7 separate regions of the Homo sapiens genome follow, and all the other regions are linked to region 2. Evidence: promoter capture Hi-C in human tissues and cell types (Jung and others, 2019). All regions are on one chromosome and are shown on one strand. Each heading gives the region's core, a stretch centred on a gene start or on the middle of the fragment in contact. The rest is flanking DNA. Distances are from core to core; before and after follow the strand shown.

Evidence for each region. The method cuts DNA at HindIII sites, captures the fragments that hold promoters and counts their contacts. A contact is called where the count stands out against the background at its distance.
Region 1: a contact is called between a fragment that was not itself captured here and the fragment with the promoter of ADCY2 in region 2, in 2 of the 25 tissues and cell types used here (bladder and dorsolateral prefrontal cortex).
Region 3: a fragment that was not itself captured here is called in contact with the fragment with the promoter of ADCY2 in region 2 in 1 of the 25 tissues and cell types used here (hippocampus).
Region 4: a fragment that was not itself captured here is called in contact with the fragment with the promoter of ADCY2 in region 2 in 2 of the 25 tissues and cell types used here (heart left ventricle and mesendoderm cells).
Region 5: a fragment that was not itself captured here is called in contact with the fragment with the promoter of ADCY2 in region 2 in 1 of the 25 tissues and cell types used here (H1 embryonic stem cells).
Region 6: a fragment that was not itself captured here is called in contact with the fragment with the promoter of ADCY2 in region 2 in 1 of the 25 tissues and cell types used here (dorsolateral prefrontal cortex).
Region 7: a contact is called between a fragment that was not itself captured here and the fragment with the promoter of ADCY2 in region 2, in 1 of the 25 tissues and cell types used here (dorsolateral prefrontal cortex).

What each region holds. Positions count from the first base shown.
Region 1 is chr5:7,788,983-7,791,682 of GRCh38, forward strand. It overlaps ADCY2 (adenylate cyclase 2), which reads left to right. Exons shown (of 25, transcript NM_020546.3): 20 at 660-818. Among named protein-coding and RNA genes, the nearest start is that of CFAP90, 61 kb to the right of the region's middle. The HindIII fragment of the contact is 4,487 bases long and covers 1-2,700 here.
Region 2 is chr5:7,394,839-7,397,733 of GRCh38, forward strand. ADCY2 (adenylate cyclase 2) reads left to right here and starts at 1,300. Exons shown (of 25, transcript NM_020546.3): 1 at 1,300-1,668. The coding sequence starts at 1,459. It overlaps LOC107986403 (a long non-coding RNA gene), which reads right to left and starts at 1,111. Exons shown (of 2, transcript XR_001742597.2): 1 at 1-1,111. RefSeq lists enhancers at 1-615, 616-1,381. The HindIII fragment of the contact is 8,449 bases long and covers 1-2,895 here.
Region 3 is chr5:7,876,437-7,879,380 of GRCh38, forward strand. It overlaps MTRR (5-methyltetrahydrofolate-homocysteine methyltransferase reductase), which reads left to right. Exons shown (of 15, transcript NM_002454.3): 5 at 1,508-1,886. Among named protein-coding and RNA genes, the nearest start is that of MTRR, 8.8 kb to the left of the region's middle. The HindIII fragment of the contact is 4,993 bases long and covers 1-2,944 here.
Region 4 is chr5:6,931,755-6,934,454 of GRCh38, forward strand. No RefSeq gene overlaps it. Among named protein-coding and RNA genes, the nearest start is that of LINC02196, 100 kb to the right of the region's middle. The HindIII fragment of the contact is 4,609 bases long and covers 1-2,700 here.
Region 5 is chr5:7,859,542-7,862,241 of GRCh38, forward strand. FASTKD3 (FAST kinase domains 3) reads right to left here. Exons shown (of 7, transcript NM_024091.4): 5 at 2,042-2,111; 6 at 1,608-1,722. It also overlaps a transcript of MTRR not described here. Among named protein-coding and RNA genes, the nearest start is that of FASTKD3, 8.1 kb to the right of the region's middle. The HindIII fragment of the contact is 6,566 bases long and covers 1-2,700 here.
Region 6 is chr5:7,839,155-7,841,854 of GRCh38, forward strand. The region is part of intron 1 of CFAP90 (cilia and flagella associated protein 90); the gene reads right to left. Among named protein-coding and RNA genes, the nearest start is that of CFAP90, 11 kb to the right of the region's middle. The HindIII fragment of the contact is 6,768 bases long and covers 1-2,700 here.
Region 7 is chr5:7,094,633-7,097,502 of GRCh38, forward strand. The region is part of intron 1 of LINC02196 (long intergenic non-protein coding RNA 2196); the gene reads left to right. Among named protein-coding and RNA genes, the nearest start is that of LINC02196, 60 kb to the left of the region's middle. The HindIII fragment of the contact is 3,716 bases long and covers 1-2,870 here.

The DNA of each region.
Region 1 (2,700 bases), core at 43-2,542, 390 kb after region 2:
TTAGTAATAACTACTTTTAAAATACATTATATTTTAATACATTATAAAGCATGAACACAGGTTTTTACTAACAGGCACTATCTTAATTAATATCAAAATGAACTTTTCTCTAAATGTAACGAATGGCATTCTGTCAGAACAGCACAATCCCAAGTGGAAGAAAAATCCATATTTTGCAATGATTACATAATTATACAATTTGTGTTAGGGAAAAACTAATTTACAAATGCTAAAGGCAAACTGCCATAAACGAACAATACAGTTTTTATTCAAATCATCAAAAAATGCACTCTCTCTACAGAGGTATTTTTCATGTATTCATCATTTATATTCTACAATTGCCTCTTTTCAAAAAATAATTTGAGCCCTCTTTTAGTAGCATAACTTTGCAGGAAGCTTTAATGGCGCTTTGAATTTAAGCCTCCATATAGCTGATTTCCCTGTTTCTGAGGCTGGTTCTTGTTTTTTGCAAATCCATGTCAGAGGTTGACTGAAGGACATTTCAGGGACACAGAGGGCTTTATGGGGAGGGTGGAAGTTCTGTTTGGGGGTTCTTTTTTCGGTTTCATTTTGTTCTTTTTGTTTTCTCTTTAAAACCTCCACTCTCTGGCAGGACAAGATGCCTATTGTTTCTTTACCTCTGTGTCCTCTTGTAACAGAATGAATATTACTGTAGGTTAGACTTCTTATGGAAGAACAAATTCAAAAAAGAGCGGGAGGAGATAGAGACCATGGAGAACCTGAACCGCGTGCTGCTGGAGAACGTGCTTCCCGCGCACGTGGCTGAGCACTTCCTGGCCAGGAGCCTGAAGAATGAGGTCAGACCAGGGGGGCTGGGGGCTGGGGGAGGGGGCTGGATGCCATGATGACCTGGGTGAGGGCTGAAAGCTTCTTCAGTGACATAAAGGCTGCAGTACTTCACACATCTGAGTGTTCAAATTGGCCAAGATTGGCTTGAATTGTTCAGTTTTCAAGGAGATATTGATTGGTTGTAGAGATATCCGTTGAGAATAGTGGGTTAGAATGACCTCTAAAAGTCTGAGTCTGGAGGTGGATTCATTATTAGAGATTTTTTCCCCAATCATGTAAAGTTCTGAATGTCTTTTATGAGGCACTAGGATCCCAAATATGCCTCCAAAGAAGCCACTGCTCTCTCCCCATTGTGGGAGGAGGCCTGCCTTACCAGCACGCAATGGAGGCTCAAACCAAGAGGCAACGTTAAACCATGCCTCCCACACGCCCCCTGTTTCCCCACACTCAGCTTCCCTGACAGCCTTCCAAGGCTCTTAGAATTTCAAAGATATCAGATACACAGTGAGTGTGACAGGATTTAGGAGTTATCTACACAAGAGCAGACCAAAGACTTGAGTCCATCCATTAGAGTGGATAGAAATGGGAATTTCATGGAGTGTTTATCCAAATGGATTAGCTAGAGTTGCAAAGACTACAATGTCAGTTAAATATTGAAATGGGTTTTGAAGAGATGTTGTGAGATGTCTTTAATATTGCTGAAGTGCAAGAGAAAGCAGATATGTCTACATTTGGACTTAACGTGAGAAACATGTATCTGAGCATCCACAGTACGCAAAGCCCTGCGCTCATTTCTGTGGTGTTTCCCAGATGTCTGAGATGTGTAAACGAAGAAGTGTCTGAGACAGGTCTCAATCAAGTTAGAAGTTTATTTTCCAAGGTTGAGGATGGTGCCCAGGAAAAAGAAACACAAGTTACACTAGGATTCCTGGCCTGTGCTTTTCCCAAAGAGAGTTTTGAAGACTCCAATACTGAAAGGGGAAAGAGTGGACAGTAGGGGAAGGAGGAAAAGGAATAAAAAGAGAAACGGGGTAGACAAGAGATGGTTACATTCTTGTGAGGCTTGATTAGTGCTCATTGAAACCACATTTTCCATATGAAAAGAGAGGAGTCAGGAAAAGCCCATTATGCCTTCCTCTGCTTGAGCCGAGGGATGATTTCTGGTCTTGTCTTTGTCCAGTACCTGTGAAGATCAGCTATTAATTTGCATTGCCAGGATAAGAGTCAACAGAACTCTGTTTTCTGGTCAGTTTTTTTTTGGGGGGGTGTCTATTCTGAAAGATTTCAGGGCCCACAAGGAATTTTTTCCTGAGCAGTTGTGAGGGAGGCCACCTGGGGTGCTCCGTGGCCCTTCTATGTTGCAGCCATCCGTGTGGGAACAAAAAGCAGGTAGTTTCTTGCATGACTCAGTTCCCAAGCTTAACTTTTAGTGAGTTTGGGGTCCTGAGATTTTTTTTTTCAGAGGTGTAACCCCTGTTCTTAGGACATTTTCACTGAGGCATGGGAGTGCATGCGCAAAAGAGGTGGGGGTCACCTGTAGATGGATGAACTCCTTAATGGATAAGCTCAACCTGGATGATACCAGAACACAAAGCAACCTGCAGTGAGAAGCCTTGGAACAGTATTTTTCTGTAGCGGATTTGAAGTTGGCATTAAGAAGAAGGTGCCAGGTGGCAGATGAGGTGCTAGACATCACCACTCCCATCTTCCTGGAAATATTCAGGGCACAGTGGGCCTTCCAGGGCTACACAACAAGTCTCATGGCCCACTGGCTTTCCTATCTCTTCTCCTGGTGTTTACTACATTTGGTGGGTTCTTCAGCACCTGATTTTCCTATTGATCACAGGTAATAAAATTACAATGTCTATTAAAGGGCCCTCTGTTCTCGTT
Region 2 (2,895 bases), core at 50-2,549:
GTGGGTTCCTTTGGTGATAAGCAATGAAGCCCCTTCGGCCCCCAGGGCGAAGGCCAGCGGCCTCCGCTCCCACGCGTGTCGGGAGGGGACACTGTCCCTGGTGACATCCGCCCCCACAACGCTCCTGCCGGGTCTCTAGCGCCTCCTGCGTCCAGGCCCCCAAGGTGACAGGGAGGGAGCTACTCCCAGGGCCGACCCGCCCGCTCCCGCGCCCAGCCGCTCTCCCCGGCGCCCCTTTGCCGCCATCCCCGCTCAGCAGAGGGGCTCGGCGAGGACCACGACCAGCCACGGGGCAGCTCTGTAAACCTGTGATATGACAGGCTTATACGGCACCTCCAAAGTGTGACTGAAGCTGAGCGTGCAGGGCGCAACGGACGCTGCCCCCGCGAGGCCGTGGCGGGGGCTCCCAGTGCAGTCACTGCCGCTTCACTTCCACATGGTGCCGGTCTCCAGTTAGGTCCCCTGGCGTTTCCGCGCCCTGCCGCCCTCGCAGGGAGCCCCGGCCCTCTCAAGAGGGTGGAGAGGATGGGGGAGCCCTCAACCCTGCTACGCTGAGGGGAAGAAGGGCTGGACGGCAAACCGGTGCCCACCGCGGGGAGGCGGGAAGGGTGGGAAATCCTCTCCAGCTCCCCAAAAGAGTGAAAAGGAGGGAGACCCCGCTGTCCTCTGACCCGCGTACTAAAGGAGGGACCCCCCGGGTCCTCTGACCCCGGCTGCGCTCTGTGACTGTGGGGGAGGGTGGGAGCAGGCCCCGCAGCCCACTAAGGGGTGGAGGAAACAGGAGGGTGGCAGCGTCCCTGCCCGCTGACCTTGAGGTAGTGGAGAGGAGCTGAGGAGCCCCGCAGTGCTCCGAGCCAGGTGGGGCGGGGGGAGTGGTGGGGGTAGGACTCCCTCCCTCCACCCCTTAGGCTGTGTTCTCACTTCGTAGCGGGGAGGGCCGTCCCTCCCACCCCACCCACGCTGCACTCGGGATAGGGCAGAGGAGGTGGACGACCTGGTGGCTGAGTGTGGGAGGCCGGCGGGCGAGGACGACCCCGGGCCGGGGCGCAGCGGGAGCCCCTCAGTTCGCCACTCCCCCCACCGTACAGCCCCCGCCGTCCCCAGCCTGCAGCCGGGCCGTCGGGTGGGGGCCGACACCGCCCCTGCACGGAGGCCGGCTGCGCGCGGGGCGGGGAGCGGCGGGCGGAGGGCCCCGTGGAACCCGCCCCCTCCCGCGCGGTGGCGGTGGCGGCGGCGGCGCCGGGAGCTGCCCCCGAGGCCGCCGCCCGGCCCCCGCCCGCGCGTCAGCGCGCCCAGCCCGGGGCGCCGAGCTCCGCCCGCGCCGGAGGCCCCTGCGCGCAGCTCCGGGTGCCGGCAGCCGGGCCGGCCGAGGCGGCGCGGGGGTGGGACGCGGGCGGCCGCGGCGAGCGGCGCTGCCCGGGCCGGGCGCGCACGGCGGGCGCCCTGTGAGCGGCCCCGATGTGGCAGGAGGCGATGCGGCGCCGCCGCTACCTGCGGGACCGCTCCGAGGAGGCGGCGGGCGGCGGAGACGGGCTGCCGCGGTCCCGGGACTGGCTCTACGAGTCCTACTACTGCATGAGCCAGCAGCACCCGCTCATCGTCTTCCTGCTGCTCATCGTCATGGGCTCCTGCCTCGCCCTGCTCGCCGTCTTCTTCGCGCTCGGGCTGGTGAGTGGCCTCCCCGCGGGTCCAGCGCCGCGCCTTCCCCGGCCCTGAGAGGAGCCCGGCCAGCCGAGCCGCGTCCCGCTCCGGGCTGCCCCTCGGCCCGCGGCAGCCCCTCGGCCCGCGGCAGCCCCTCGGCCCGCGGCTCCCTGCTTCTCCTGCTGGCCCGCGGCCCGGTGGACTCTGGCAAGGGCTGCGGGCGGGAGAAAAGTTTCCTGGGAAGGCTCTTCCCAAAATAAAGTTCCCGAGGTGTTCACCAGGTGGACGGGCAGGGCGTGTGCTTTTTGCATCTTTGCGCACCCGCTGGCAAACTCTGCGCTTTCCGCCGGGCACCGCTGCCCGCAGCGCTGGAATAGGTCTTCCCCGACTCAGCCCTGGGCTTCCTGGGCGAGTCGCTGTCTCCTGCCCGGTTCCACTGGCATGGCCCCACAGTTGGCATTTTAGTTGGGATTGGGCGTTATTCAACTCTGCAGAAAGCCTGCCTTGGGAAAGTGGTTAATGACAAGGAAAATGAAGAAGAAAAATTAAGTATACATCTTTGCCTTTAAATCTGTATGCATTTAGCTCTTTAGCCCGATAGACGGAAAGTGATGTGGTGTTGACTTGTGAATCAATCTTTCATCTCAGAGACTACAGTTAAGAAGCGTTTGGGACGGACGATTGCTTTCCCGTTTCTAAAGAAGTAACGTGTTTAGGGTTTTGGACAGGTTATTAAAGTGGATTTCATCACGAGGAGTATAATGCAGCTCAACAGCTGATGTCAGTTTTGCCAGTTTATATTTTTCAAGCAGAAATCCTTGGCTCGCTCCCTTGAAAAGTGAGGGGAAGTCTGTAGATGGCGATAACTTCCTGTTACTGATCTCTGAGTGTGTGGTTCAAACTTTTGCACTGCCTGTGACATGCATGTGCAGATTTTGTGCGAGGCATTGATTATCCACCAGTGAGTTTTTTTTTTTTTTTTTTTTTTTTTTTTAGTCAGTGGTTGATCTGTGAATGTGTCCACTGGGTGATGTATTTTGAGCTTAGAATATAAATATGTGCCTATATTTATATGTGTCCACCACCAAAGAAGTGGATTTTGCTTATATTTCACCATGCATAAAATAGCTGTCCTTGGTATTTGGCAATTTGTTTAGGATGTCCGGAGCCAGATGGTGTTCAAATGTTATGCATGGGAAGAATTGTTACCATCATGTTTTTAAAAAATAAAAAAATTCCCCCACACCACTCAAT
Region 3 (2,944 bases), core at 243-2,742, 480 kb after region 2:
CCATATTTCACTTCTCTTCAAAGGCTTTCATTTTCTCTGTTGATTTATTGGTGTAAGTATTGAAATGCTTGACTGTATATTTCAGTAGACTATAGTGCTTAGATTTTCAACCTAACTACCTTACTTGAATTTTTCCTTTTTCTGAAATGAAGATATTTTCAAGACATTCTTGCTTGATGTGCCACCACACTAAATGGGGTTACGAATGCACACTTGAGTCCAATACCTGGGTTCAAATCCTTGATCCCCCACTTACTGACTGAGATCTTGGTTGAATTAGTTAAGCTTTTTGTTCCTTGGTTTTTGCCTCTGTGCAATAGATAACAGTAATCTATTTACTGTGTAAGCTTCGTAGGAGGGTCAAACGGATTAATACATGTCGTCCTCTTAGAAGAGTGCCTGTCGTCATGTAGTAAACACTCAGTGAACGTTAGTTCTCCTCCTGGTTGTGCACACTATCACCTTAATATTTCTGAGTTGTGAGAGTGATATTTTACATGTAGCTGTTATTGTTGAACTGTAGTTTTATAAACTTGTTTTCACAAAGGCTCCTCAGGGCAGCTCTAATGTGTAACCACATTTTGAGTAGTGTACCACATGAGCACCTCCCGAGCACAGTGAAATGACAACCTGAGTCATAATGACACACGGGCCTGAAATCTGCCTCCTCTTGGTATTCATTTCGCTTTAGGAATTAGAATTTAATTGATCCTCCTTTGAGCTGTGATTAAAAGTGGTGTTATTTCCACAGCCCTGCCACAGTCTTATCCACTGACTCTACTTAAACTTCTCTGTTCAGGGAATGGCTGTTGTTATGATAATTTGTTAGTAGTAGGTGGACTGCCACATTTAAAAAATCTATTTATGATGAATTCAACTTTCCCAAAGGAGGGTTGCTTTTTTTTTCTCCTGTTGTCAGCCTCCCTGGGAATTTTACTAAAATAAAAAAATAAATAAAGGCTTTAACTATTTATTTAGTCCAAGGACTTGGCATTAATCCATAGTGATTTCTTGGTGATATTTTAATCTGTAGGAAACAGATCAGTAGATCAGTAAATTGGCTAGGCAAAAAAAAAAAAAAAAAAAGGTGCATTTGATGGATGGAATGAGCATTTGCAGCATTATGGTAGCCTTGGATTTTGGTTAAGTTCTGTTAGCATTAGTATGCCTATTTAAAATTATATCTTCTTAAAATAAAGTTTACCAATTCTGGAATATTAGGAGGAATTCTATTCCTGTCATCCTATTACTAGAATATCTTCCTATCCCTCTTCATTTCTTCTACCTTTATACATACTCATGTTTTCAGCTACGGTGCTAATGAACACATAATATATCCTGCTTGTTAAAACTTAATCATGAAGTATTTTTTGTATTCCGAATGGTCTTCATAGTGTTTCTAACAAGTGCATACTTTGCCAAATGGACAGACTGTCATTATCCTGTTCTGTGTTCAGATGGAGAACTTAGGCATTTGTTTTGTTTTTCGTTTGTTTTTACTGTCCAGTTTAGAACTTGTGGTTGAGCCGTGGATTGCTGGACTCTGGCCAGCCCTCAGAAAGCATTTTAGGTCAAGCAGAGGACAAGAGGAGATAAGTGGCGCACTCCCGGTGGCATCACCTGCATCCTCGAGGACAGACCTTGTGAAGTCAGAGCTGCTACACATTGAATCTCAAGTCGAGCTTCTGAGATTCGATGATTCAGGAAGAAAGGATTCTGAGGTTTTGAAGCAAAATGCAGTGAACAGCAACCAATCCAATGTTGTAATTGAAGACTTTGAGTCCTCACTTACCCGTTCGGTACCCCCACTCTCACAAGCCTCTCTGAATATTCCTGGTTTACCCCCAGAATATTTACAGGTACATCTGCAGGAGTCTCTTGGCCAGGTAAGGAAGTTTTTCTTTATGCTATAGATGCTATTTAATCATGGATGTTTGCTTTGGGCTTTTAAATTATTATTACATTAGAAGAGAGGTCAACAAACTATGGCTTACTGGCCCAATGTGGCCCAGAGCCTTTCTTTTGTAAATAGATTTTACTGGAACACAGCCATGCCTATTCATTTAGGTAGTGTCTATGACAGCTTTTGAGCTGCAATAGCAGAGTTAGTGGTTACCACAGGGGCCTGCAATGCCTAAGGCATTTGGCCCCTTCCAGTAAAAGTTTTCCCACCCAGGTATTACAAAAGGTCTTGTATTATTACTTCTGTATTTGAAGAAGTAGATAAGAACTCAGTTTCATCATTATTTTGGAGAACTAACAACTTGGTTTCTCATTTTAGATGAGTCAAACAGAGATGAGTTGTGTGGGCAGTGAGTTGAGTATCACATTGCATAATAGCTAATTTCTCCCCACAGGCAGTGTATGGTACCCTGAAGTTTTTCTAACCTGCTTAAAATAAGTTTCCAGAGCAGGCAGTCTTTGAATGCAGGGCTAAGCCCTCTTTCTGTTGAGTGGCTGTTTGGAGTTCCACATGGACTTTTCTTACAAAAACCACACCCTTACTGCAGCTATTACCAGTTTTAATTTCTTGTTTTTTTTAATGAAGACAGATTTAGACATTTAAGAAATAATTTGGATGCAGCATCTTTCTTGTATATTAGCACTGTTTGTAAACACCTGGTATGATAGCAATTTTTTTTAGCATCTTTTATAATGTCTTTCTAAAGCTTTCATGTAAGTATGATTTTGTGTATAAACAACTATGGGCTATTGTTTTTGCACTTGTACTTCATTATTTTGTGAATTGTTTAAGTGAGATAATTGCAGTAAGTGTATCTCAGTCTGGTTTGGGAACAGACACAACTTATGCCTGGACTGGTGGGAGCAGAGTGCAGTGTTGCACCACAGACAGGATCAGTTCATGGCAGCGGGGATAGAGATTAATCATTAATCTGACTAGGAGTTTTAAATTAGCCGGAAGATCTGTTAAGAGTTTATGGGT
Region 4 (2,700 bases), core at 167-2,666, 460 kb before region 2:
TGTATGTGTCCAGGAATTTATCCATTTCTCATAGATTTTCTACTTTGTTTGCATAGAGTTGTTTGTCATAGTCTCTGATGGTTATTTGTATTTCTTTGGGGTCAATGGTATCATCTACTTTGCCATTTCTAATTGTATTTATTTGAATCTTCTCTTCTTTATTAGTCTAGCTAGCAGCCAATTTATCTAACTTTTTGATGTGGGCATTTAGTGCTATTAATTTTCCTCTTAACACTGCCTTATTGTCTTAGGTGTGTCTCAAAGATTGTGGTATGTTGTATCTTTGTTCTCATTAGTTTCAAAGGACTTCTTGATTTCTACCTTAATTTCATTATTTACCTGAAAGTGATTCAGACGCAAGTTGTTTAATTTCTATGAATTGTATAAGAAATCTTTTCCTAAAGTCACAAATATTTTCTCTCCTGCATTTTCTTGTAAGAATTGTATAGTTTTAGGTTTAAATTTTGAGTTAGTGTTTATAAATGGAGCAACGCATAGGTCAGCTTTGTTTATTTATTTGCATATAGATGCCCAATTGTTCTAACACTGTTTGTTGCAGAGAGTATTCTTTCCTCATGAAATTATCCTTGCAACTTTGTTGAAAATCATTTGTTTATGTCTGTGTGGGCTCTGTCTTAGTACCCTCTATTCTTTTCCATTGATTTGTGTGTCTACCCTTTCATTAATACCACATTATCATGATCAAAGTAGCTTTATAGTAAGTCTTGAAATCAGGACATGGTGAGTTTTAAAAGTGGTTCTTCTTTATTTTTCAAAATTGTGTTTACCATTCTAGTTATTTTGTCTTTATGTATAAATTTTATAATCAACTTATGAATTTCAACAAAAATTCTGCTGCTGCATTTTTGATTGAGATTGCATTGAATCTAAAGATAAATTTGGGAAAGAACTGACAAGAAAATTGAACCTTCTAATCAATGAATATGGTGTATCTTTCCAGTTATTCAGGAACTTTTTCCTACTTTGGTGTTTTGTGGTTTTCAGCATAGAAATCTTGCAAATCTTCTGCTTATGTAAAACTCGTATTTCTTTTTTGGTGCTATGGGAAATGGTAGGTTTTTAGGTTTATCAATGTGTTTAATCTGTTTCTATGCCCATCATTGAATTCTTTTCCTTCATCCTAGGTTGACTTTACTACTTTAAATTTCCATCTTTGTCTCTCTGTAAATGTAATTAGAATCATATTGTGCACATTATTTCATAAACTTTCCCCTTATAATAAGCTTCATTTTCATAGCTGCCATCCCTTGAAAACATGCAACCATTTAGTTATGTAGAATTTTTAAGTTTTAACTATTAGTAAAGACAGTGAACATCTTTGTGTATATAATTCTTAAATAAAAGACTACTAATATCTTTTTAAAAAGTTTTCTGTTTCTTATTGAAAAACTTTTGATGGCAAATCACTTGAAGGGAAAATTTATTAGTAATATATTTAGTCATAAATTTGTAGTGTATGCAGAGTTCCAAAATGTTAAATGATATTAGAAGTCAGGTTGAAATATAAATTATCTATATACATGTTCAGTTCTACCATTTCTAAGTCCTGTTGACCAGATGAGATTGGCACAGTGTTTCTACTTGATTTTCCCAATTAATTTTTATACTCTGGGTATAGATGATGTGTATTGTCCATTATATGACTATCCTGCAATGCCTTTAGCTCTTCCCCTTTTGGTGGAGGTAATGATATTTGATTTGCTGCCATTACAGTCATTGCTCCAGCAAGCACCATTGTGCATATTCCTACATCCAGGTTTGAGGATTTTTCTCCAGTGTATTTTTTTTTTTTTTTGCCAGCCCCATCATTTGTAACTTCGTGTCATTTTGTTAGGAGTGTCTTGTGAACAGCATATGGCTATTTCTTTTAAATCAATCTGGCAGTCTGTCTTTCAGTAGGCAGCTTCAGTCCTGGTATGGGCTGTAGCAAGTACTGCTGCTGCTGTCCATCCCTTCTGCCCACGTGAGTTCTCCTGCATGCAGGTTCTGACATCTCTTTCTACAGTGGTGGAGTCAGCCCTCCTTTTTGCTTGGGGACATTCTCAGGTGCTGCAGAAACTTGCTGTGCCATGGACAAGTTTATTGTGAAATCAGGAGGTTTCATAGGGAGCCACACAGAGGCAACCATGGTGAGTCGGTGCATGAATGCCTCCCCAATCTGATGGGCGATGCTGCAGTTTGTTTCTCACGGTTTCAGAGGGACCCTCTGGGGACTGAGCCACAGGTGCCCCAAGTGCTAACCCGCTCATTGGTGCACCTTAATTAGGTTGATCACATTTCCCCTTTCTCACCATGCTTGTTGGAATCATCACTCAAATAAACTACCTGGGCCCAAGTTCTTGTCTCAGGTCTGCTTGGGAGTCCATACTAACATTGTTTGATTATAAGTATCAACTCTTTTTTGTGTTTTCTGTTAACCTTATTTTTAAAAAAATTCTTCCCGTTATTTCTGTCTTTTACTGGATCGATTTAGTTTTCTTTGGTTCATTCATTCTTCTGGCTTGGCAACTATAGATTACCTTTCTATTCCTTCAAAGGTTTCTTTAGCTTTTGAAGACATACACATCAATATAAAATTTCTAATACAGTCCAAATTTACTCTTATTTTATTTGTTTTATTAAGAAATACAATGACTTCAGTATGCTTTAACTTTCCCTCCTCTGATTTCTGAATTTTTC
Region 5 (2,700 bases), core at 127-2,626, 460 kb after region 2:
GTAAAGGTAGAAAAGTAAAACTGGTCAAGATCCTTCAAAATCTGAGGTTCCTCTGGCTATTGGTTACTTTGTTTGTTTCTTACACGCTTCCCCACAGCGGAATGTAAGCTCCTGGAAGGCAAATATCCCAACCAGCTTCTTCATCCTGTATCCCCAATGTCTAGAACAGTGCCTGGCACTGAGAAGGGGCTTGGTAAATATTTGATGAATTAATATGTAGAATATGCAAATAAGAATTAAACATGATCTCTTGTTCTCCAGGAGTTCACAACTTGGGTGGCAAGTTAAATTACACAATAAATATAAAAAACAAGCTGTAGGTTGGTGATCTAGTGCTAAGAGGGAGTGAGCATTTCATTAGATGAGGGTGGGGATGCCGACAAACTGCTGGAAGGTAGGTATTCAGAGAGCTGGAGGACGCAGCAGGGACAAAGAGGGAATGAAGAGGGAGAGAGCAGGAGGCGCAGCAAAGGAGAGAGTCTGCTCAGCTGGGAGCAGAGGGGCCAGGTAGTAATCATGTGCCTGCAGCCTGGCTGCAGGCCAACCATTGGAGGGTCTTGAATGTTAAGATGTAGAGAAGTTTTTACTTTATTCTGTAAGCAGTAAAGAAACATTGAAGCTTCTGAGTAGACACTGGCATGATTAGTTTTAGGAATATTCAGCTGGGGATGTGCAAGATGGAGAAAAAAGTCAGCAGATATGAAACCACAGTGCTGCCTAGTACTGACAGCTTAGAGAATTAGGGCAGCGCTCATTCTCACGCACTGCTGAGCCCTCACATAAGACCTTCTTACATTATCTACAGTGAAATATTTAAAAGGTCTTAAATATTAAGTGTTGGTGAAGCTCCTTATTTTAATGGATTATCTTGTTCATTTTTATTTATTAAATCAAGGAGAAATTAAAACAGAACATATATTCCAACAATTGAGTAATTCTAAAAGCAGGGTTAAGCATAGCTTATAATGAATATAGGTAGGCCCCACTTTTGAAAAATCAAAGCTCTGAAAATTCTGTATTTCAAAATATAAGTCAAGAGATTTAAGCCGAATTAACAACGTTGGGATTTAAACTAGACGTAAGATCGGTGGTCCACTGGGCTGGCAAACCAGTTAGTACTGTAAAAGCAAATTAAAATGGAGCCTGTGCCTGAAAAATCCCTGAGCAGACCAAGCCAGTTGGGCCTTGAAAATAACCTTAACTTTGCTTAAAGTGCAAATGTTAAGCAAAATTTAACTTGGGCTATTTCTTGTAGAAGCTTCTACTACAGAAAAACAGAACTTAAGCTCAACCAATCAGAAGCATCTCACAAACTAATAATTATATAACTAGGAACTTTCCACAGAATAGTTCAAACAAGGCAGCAAGAATATGTAACTGTAACCAGTCAAGTAGATTCTTTGTGTACTTGTGTTCTTCCTATAAAAGCCTCCCTCTTGGGTTCCCAAGCCATTTCGAGTTTTGTGCTGTCCAGTTCAATAATTGCTGCCTGATCAAATTCTTTAAAATTTTACTGTGCCTCAGATTACTTTTTAAAAGTAACCTGGAAAAATAATTTTGAAATAGGATTTGCTTTTGGGAAACAAAAAAAATAGGTGAAACCGTACCTGAACAACTTGATAACCGAGTAACTGTAGGTGTCTTTGTTTAATAGCTTCTTTCCCCAGTAAGTGTTTGCTATTGGAGCAAAACCTTTTTGGACCATCAATACACAGTGCTATCCTGAAAAATAAAAAAGGAGAAAAATACTTAATTTTTTAAATAATCCAAAATATTTATTATATATTTTAGTTGCCAAAGTTTATTTGGGATTTGGCTATTACTATGTGCCAATATTATTTTCAAATGAATCATGAATTTGATCTTATTAATATTAATGTTTATAAAATATTACAAGGAATTTCCCAACATGGTATTCTGAAATGTAGTATTTTAATTTCCAGAATCATATCTATTTTTTTCACCTTCTTGAGAAAAAGATACCGCTGCTTATTAGCCTCAACGAGTCTTGTAATGTGAAAAACACAACATTTTCCTGTACCTTTTATGGATATCTTCATTAGCTGTGGATGGCAATACAAATCCTTCTTCATCTAATTTAATTTCAACATCTGGTGAGAGAAGAAAGGAAAAATTCCTCGTGTGATACCCTCACAAACACTATCTTCCTGTATTCATTCCTTTGCTTTGCTTTGATTCCTTCCACCTTGCATTGATCAATTGGACTGAAGGCTGCAAAGTAATGACCACAACCAAACAATGGTGAGAATTTTAATTCAATTGGCTTTATGATCAATCAAGTCAGCCTTAAATTAAGAAAGCTCAATAACGCTAAACCACAGAATGGGTTCTGAAGTTATCTGGGGTATGACAAGAACCATGCATGCTTTCTCTTTCCCCTTATGATAGGTGGCAGAGATCCTTCAATCCAGACTGTGAAGAAAACCCTTGAGTTAAGACATTAGACATCTGTGCAACTCATAACTTCCATCATTCCAACTTGCAGTGCCTCCATGGTAAGTAAAGAAAGCATGCCACACCCAGACACCTGGTCTGCGAGCACGGAAGGCTTCCGAACTGTCCTTCCCCTCTGGTAAACTGCAGTTCCCTTCGTAAAGAGAAGAGAAGTGACCATCTGAAGCCTATGAACTGCTGTCCTTTACGAGAAGGCTTTCTTCTGCTCATCAAGTTAGAAGAACT
Region 6 (2,700 bases), core at 178-2,677, 440 kb after region 2:
TAACGCAGTAACAGCACAGGAAAGACCCACCCCAATAATTCAATCACCTTGTACTGGGTTCCTCCCACGACACATGGGAATTGTGGGAGTTACAATTCAATATGAGATTTGGGTGGCGACACAGCCAAACCATATCACCCAGGTCTGAGGGACAGCCCCCTCAGAGTGGATGGCACGAACAGCAGGGAAAATAGATCCTCCAGTGGCTGCCTGGTCTTGTATTTTCTTCTGCACAGTGCTTTTAATCAGGTCCAACCCTCCTGAACTGAGTGAGCCCCCACTGGGGTGCTTGGATTATCCTGGGAGAAAAACTCTGAAGAAGGAAGAATGGACTTAAGAATAGAATGAGAATGCAATTACTGTTATCAGAATGAGAAAGGATATGTTCATTCATTTTGTTCCCTATATTGAAGAAGCCCAGTGTAATATGCAACTTTACAGAGAAAATGCCTATTTCTTCTCATTCTAATCAGGTCTCCTGAAACACTATAAAAGTAACCACTATGAGCAGCCATGCCTGCCTCACAATCCCTGGATTAGTTGCCAACAGTCTTCTACATCTTAGTGTTTACTAGGAATCTCACTGCTTGTGGGTGTGGAGTGATCAGAGTCTTAGGAAGCTTATTTTTGTGCAGATTTTGCATATTCAGAACTTTCCAGAGTAAAAGTGAATTTTTCTATCATTGAAAAATAAGGACCAAAAAAAATAAATTCATCAGCAGGCAGGCAGCCTCGCTTTGAAATGTGACTATCCATTTTCAATAACTAATCAAACTGGAAATCTGTCTTTTCCCAGGATTTTAATTATTAATCTTTCTTTTTTTTTCTTTTATTCTCGTATGGCTTGAAGCAAGATGATACTAATAAAAACCAGTTGGGATTTAGATGCTATCACAAGACAGAGCTTCTGAAATTACTGAAATTTTGCCATTAAAATCCCTCAAGGAATTGTCTCTATTTCACAGATGATGTTCCTTTAAAAAAAAAGCAAAACAAAATATCCATTTTTCACCTTGTGATCTCTCCCTTTGTGTTTTGAATATTGTTAAAATGTAGCATGGCCTTAGCCTGGTCATGGTGCTTGATCACCTACCCTCAGTTTCCCTCACAGTGACCTCCACCCCTGATCCTGAGAAATTGCTCTGGTCCACAGGCGGCCTGGGCAGATGCTGTGGGTAGAGTGGAGGCCTCCAGTTTTCAACCTCCACAGCACATTAGGCCTACTATTGTGCAAGACACTATGCCAGGCTCCAGGACAGAAATGGGGAGTCCCTACCTTAAAAGAGACCACAGACTGAGAAGAGAAATTAACCCATTAGTTATGAACCACAGAAAAATATAAATGGAATAAGAGAGGTGTGCACAAAGTACAGTAGCAGAAAAGAATGAATGATGGGCAATTGCTTGGGCTGAGGGTAGGAAGTGCAGGTGACTGAAGGTGAGATGGGAGACTGCACCACACTGCTGTACTTAGAACCACTGCCGAACAACCTCACTGGATGTGGTCAGCTGACTTGTGTCCTCCAAGCATTCACATGTTGAAGTCCTAATCCCCAGGAACTCTGAATGTGACCTTATTTGGAATAAGGTAATTGAAGATATAATCAATTATGGTGAGGTCATACTGGAGTAGGGTAGACCCCCGAGCTAATATGACTGATGTCCTTATTGAAAGGAGAAATTTGGACATGAACATTCAGAGGGAAGGTGATGTGAAGAGACACTGGGAGAAGATGGCCGTCAACAAGCCAAGGAGAGAGGCCTGGAACAGAGCCTTCCCTCACAGCCCCTAGAAGGAACCAATCCGGCTGAATTGCAACAAAGCAAAAATTGACATATAGTATCTAATTAAACTTCAGAGCTCTGCACAGCAAAAGAAACTACGAACTGCATAAACAGACAACCTACAGAATGGGAGAAAATTTTTGCAACCAATGTATCTGACAAAGGTCTAATATCCAGCATCTACAAGAAACAAATTTACAAGAAAAAAAAACCCCGTTAAAAATTGGGCAAAGGACATGAACAGACACTTCTCAATAGACACACATGTGGCCAACAAACATGAAAAAAAGCTCAACATCACTGATCATTAGAGAAACGCAAATCAAAACCACGATGAGATACCATCTCATTCCAGTCAGAATGGATATTGAAAAGTCAAAAAACAACAGATGCTGGTGAGGTTGTGGAGAAAAAGGAATGCTTCTACACTGTTGGTGGGAGTGTAAATGAATTCAACCATTGTGGAAGACAGTGTGGCGACTCCTCAAAGACCTAGAGGCAGAAATACCATTCAACCCAGCAATCCCATTACTGAGTATATACCCAAAGGAATAGAAATCATTCCATTATAAAGACACATGCACACGTATGTTCAACGTAGTACTACTCACAATAGCAAAGATATGGAGTCAACCTAAATGCCCATCAATGATAGACTGGATAAAGAAAATGTGGTACATATACACCACAGAATACTATGCAGCCATAAAAAGGAATGAGATCACATCCTTTTCAGGGACATGGATGGAGCTGGAGGCCATTATCCTTAAAAAATTAACACAGAAACAGAAAACCAAATCCCGCATGTTCTTACTTACAAGTGAGGGCTAAATGATAAAAACATAGGGACACATGGGGGGTGGGCAACACACACTGGGGCCTGTCAGAGGACGGGACGTGGGAAGAGAGAGAAGA
Region 7 (2,870 bases), core at 165-2,664, 300 kb before region 2:
TAGAAAACAAGTAAGAAGGCACTTTCTAGTGTAGTCAGACTGAATTAAATATTTAGCCTCAATGATGTACATAATTCATGGTTACGAGTCCAGAACAGTTGCAAGGAGCAACAGTTTCTATTAGAAAATGGGCCCAAATAAAACATCTTTGCTAGGCGTTAGTGTTGGGACCAGCAGAATGAGCCATGGTCAGCACCAAGGACAGTGACAAGTGACAAATGTGTCACTACCCCTTTCACATTGCACTGGAAACCTCAAGGCTTTTACAGGAGAAAGCACCCCGCCAATCTTTAGACTGAATTGTTTTTCATTTCAGCAGAAATATTTTAACCACCATTTATCCAACTTGTCCATTCATTACACACCTAATAGGCACTGTGATTGGACATTATTTGAATCCAGAAAGCAGTAAGATGTGGCCCCAACAGACCCAATCAAAAAGCTGAATGAACGCATACTAATTGCACACTCAGGTGCTCAGTACCCTGTGGAAAATGCAAGGTCTGTTCTCCTGTTAAATGCCTTTGGTGTCACTTTGCAAAGCTGATTACCTGAATATCCTTTCACATGTCAAATGCAAAATGCAAATATACAGCAATGTTCTCAAATTCGTATGTTGTGAATGGCTCATATTACATATAAAAATATATAAATAATAATATATAGTAAGTGCTACACATAGCACTATATATACTTGTACTGTATTTAATAATGACATATTACATATTTGTATTATATATAAAATATACACATTAGTACTACGTAATATAAGTTATATTTAAATATGTGTTATATAACATTAACATAAATGTGTTCTATATTATTATTGTACATATACATAGTAACCATATAACCACCATCTAAATATTATATAAGAATAATTATATTTCAGAAATGTAAGCTTGCCAAACAGTTGCGTGAAAACACTTTTAAAACTATAAACTTAATTACAAATATCCAGATGTTTCAAGCTGGTTCTTTGGTTTACAAATGCTGAAACATCCCTTAGGAACTTCTTATGTAGTTATTTGAAAATGGTAAGAAGTGATTTTGATAAGAATGACTTGAGGGTCAGATCAGAATTTGGAGTTTTTTCTAACAATTGGGAGAATAATGACATTATGAAACTCTTGTTAAGTTATGAGAATAATGTTTGTTATCATCCTTAAGATAGGTGTTTTGCTAAAGCATTGAAGAATATATTTGTTTGTAATTTAAATGAAATTGTACTGTTATATTTTTCTATAAATTGACCTTTTCCTTTTACATTTTCTTTGAAGAGCTTACCTTCTGCACTTACAGAAAAGAGCAACCAAAATGTATTCTACCAGAAAAAAAGGAAAAGAACAGCAAAGTAAATGAGTTACCTTCTTTAGTTTTCTAGATGGTTACCCTGTCTCACTTTGATTTTTCTTTAATGTTTAATTCATCTGGATGCTAAGCAGTCTCTAGCTGAGATTTTCTATCAAGACCAAGGCAGTGTGGTGGGCCAAATAGGATAGTTAAGATCAAATCTAACTAGGAGACCACTTAGTGGTTGCCAGGGGACAGGGACACAGTTGAGGGTTGGTGCAACTTTATAAGGACAGCACTGAGGAATGCCTTTTTTGGTGACATAACAGTTCTGTATTCTGATTGTGGTGGTGGTCACATATGGGATCACAGTGCAGAGAACTGCATGTGCACACACATACACACATTGACACATATACATACACACACATACACACACATTGACACAGACATATGCAAATGTACACAGGTACCCAGGCATACACACATGCATATATGCATGCATGCATACCCACACACAAACACACACACAACAATCACACATGTGCATACACACATGCACACAGACATTGACACACATGTACACACATACAAATACACATGCACACACATGCGTACATACACATGCATGCATACCAACACAGAGACACATATACCCATTATCACACAGATGCACACACATATGCCCACTTACACATATACATACACAATGCACACATACACAGATACACATACACACATATACACCTACACATGCAGATACACACGTAAATACATGCCTGACAACACTGGTGGTAGAGGCTGAGACTCCACTTAAATCCAATTTCTTAAAAACAAATCTGACCACAAAAAATCTGACAATCTGTCTGATGAAAATAATTATAAATAGGTAAAGTGTTCTTAAACGAGTGCTCTGTCTCCTTTATCTTCTTTAATTGTTAGATTATATTTATTTATTTTAGCTTTTTATTGCTCAGGTTACCAGCAGTTAAGAAGCTGTTTATTGATGTCCCAGTAACTAAAAATTCTATTTTAAAACAGAGTTAATAATTTTAATAGCTCATGCAGGATCTCCACAGGTTATAGATGTTTAAAATAATATTCTAATTAGTAATAAATAGATTTTATAGCAACAGTATAAAATATTATAAGTATAGTACAACAGAACTTCAACATTCAGCTCCCCTGAGATGTAAACAGAACTCCTCTGATTGGAATTCCATGTCCGTCACTCACAGTCACCTTGGAAACCCCTTCACCTGTGAACTGGTGCACTCCCTCGGGCTAAAGACCATCAGCTGTATTTTTCTCCAATTCCCAGCATCAGCCTCTAGCCTAGGACTGGGTACGAGATGCAAGCTCCGTGGTTTGTGTTGGCTGACTTGTTCATGCAAACCCTCGTAATACTTGCGGGCCCCACCAAGCCATGCCTCTTGTTGTGCTGACTGCCCCTTCTCCTTGTCTAAAAGCTGTAACAAAGAGACTTTCCTGATTGTTCAGAGAGGTGACAGTGCCGGAAATCATCCACCTCCAATTTACAGCAGGTACTAAAAGTGACTTCACTAGAAGCAAGTTTT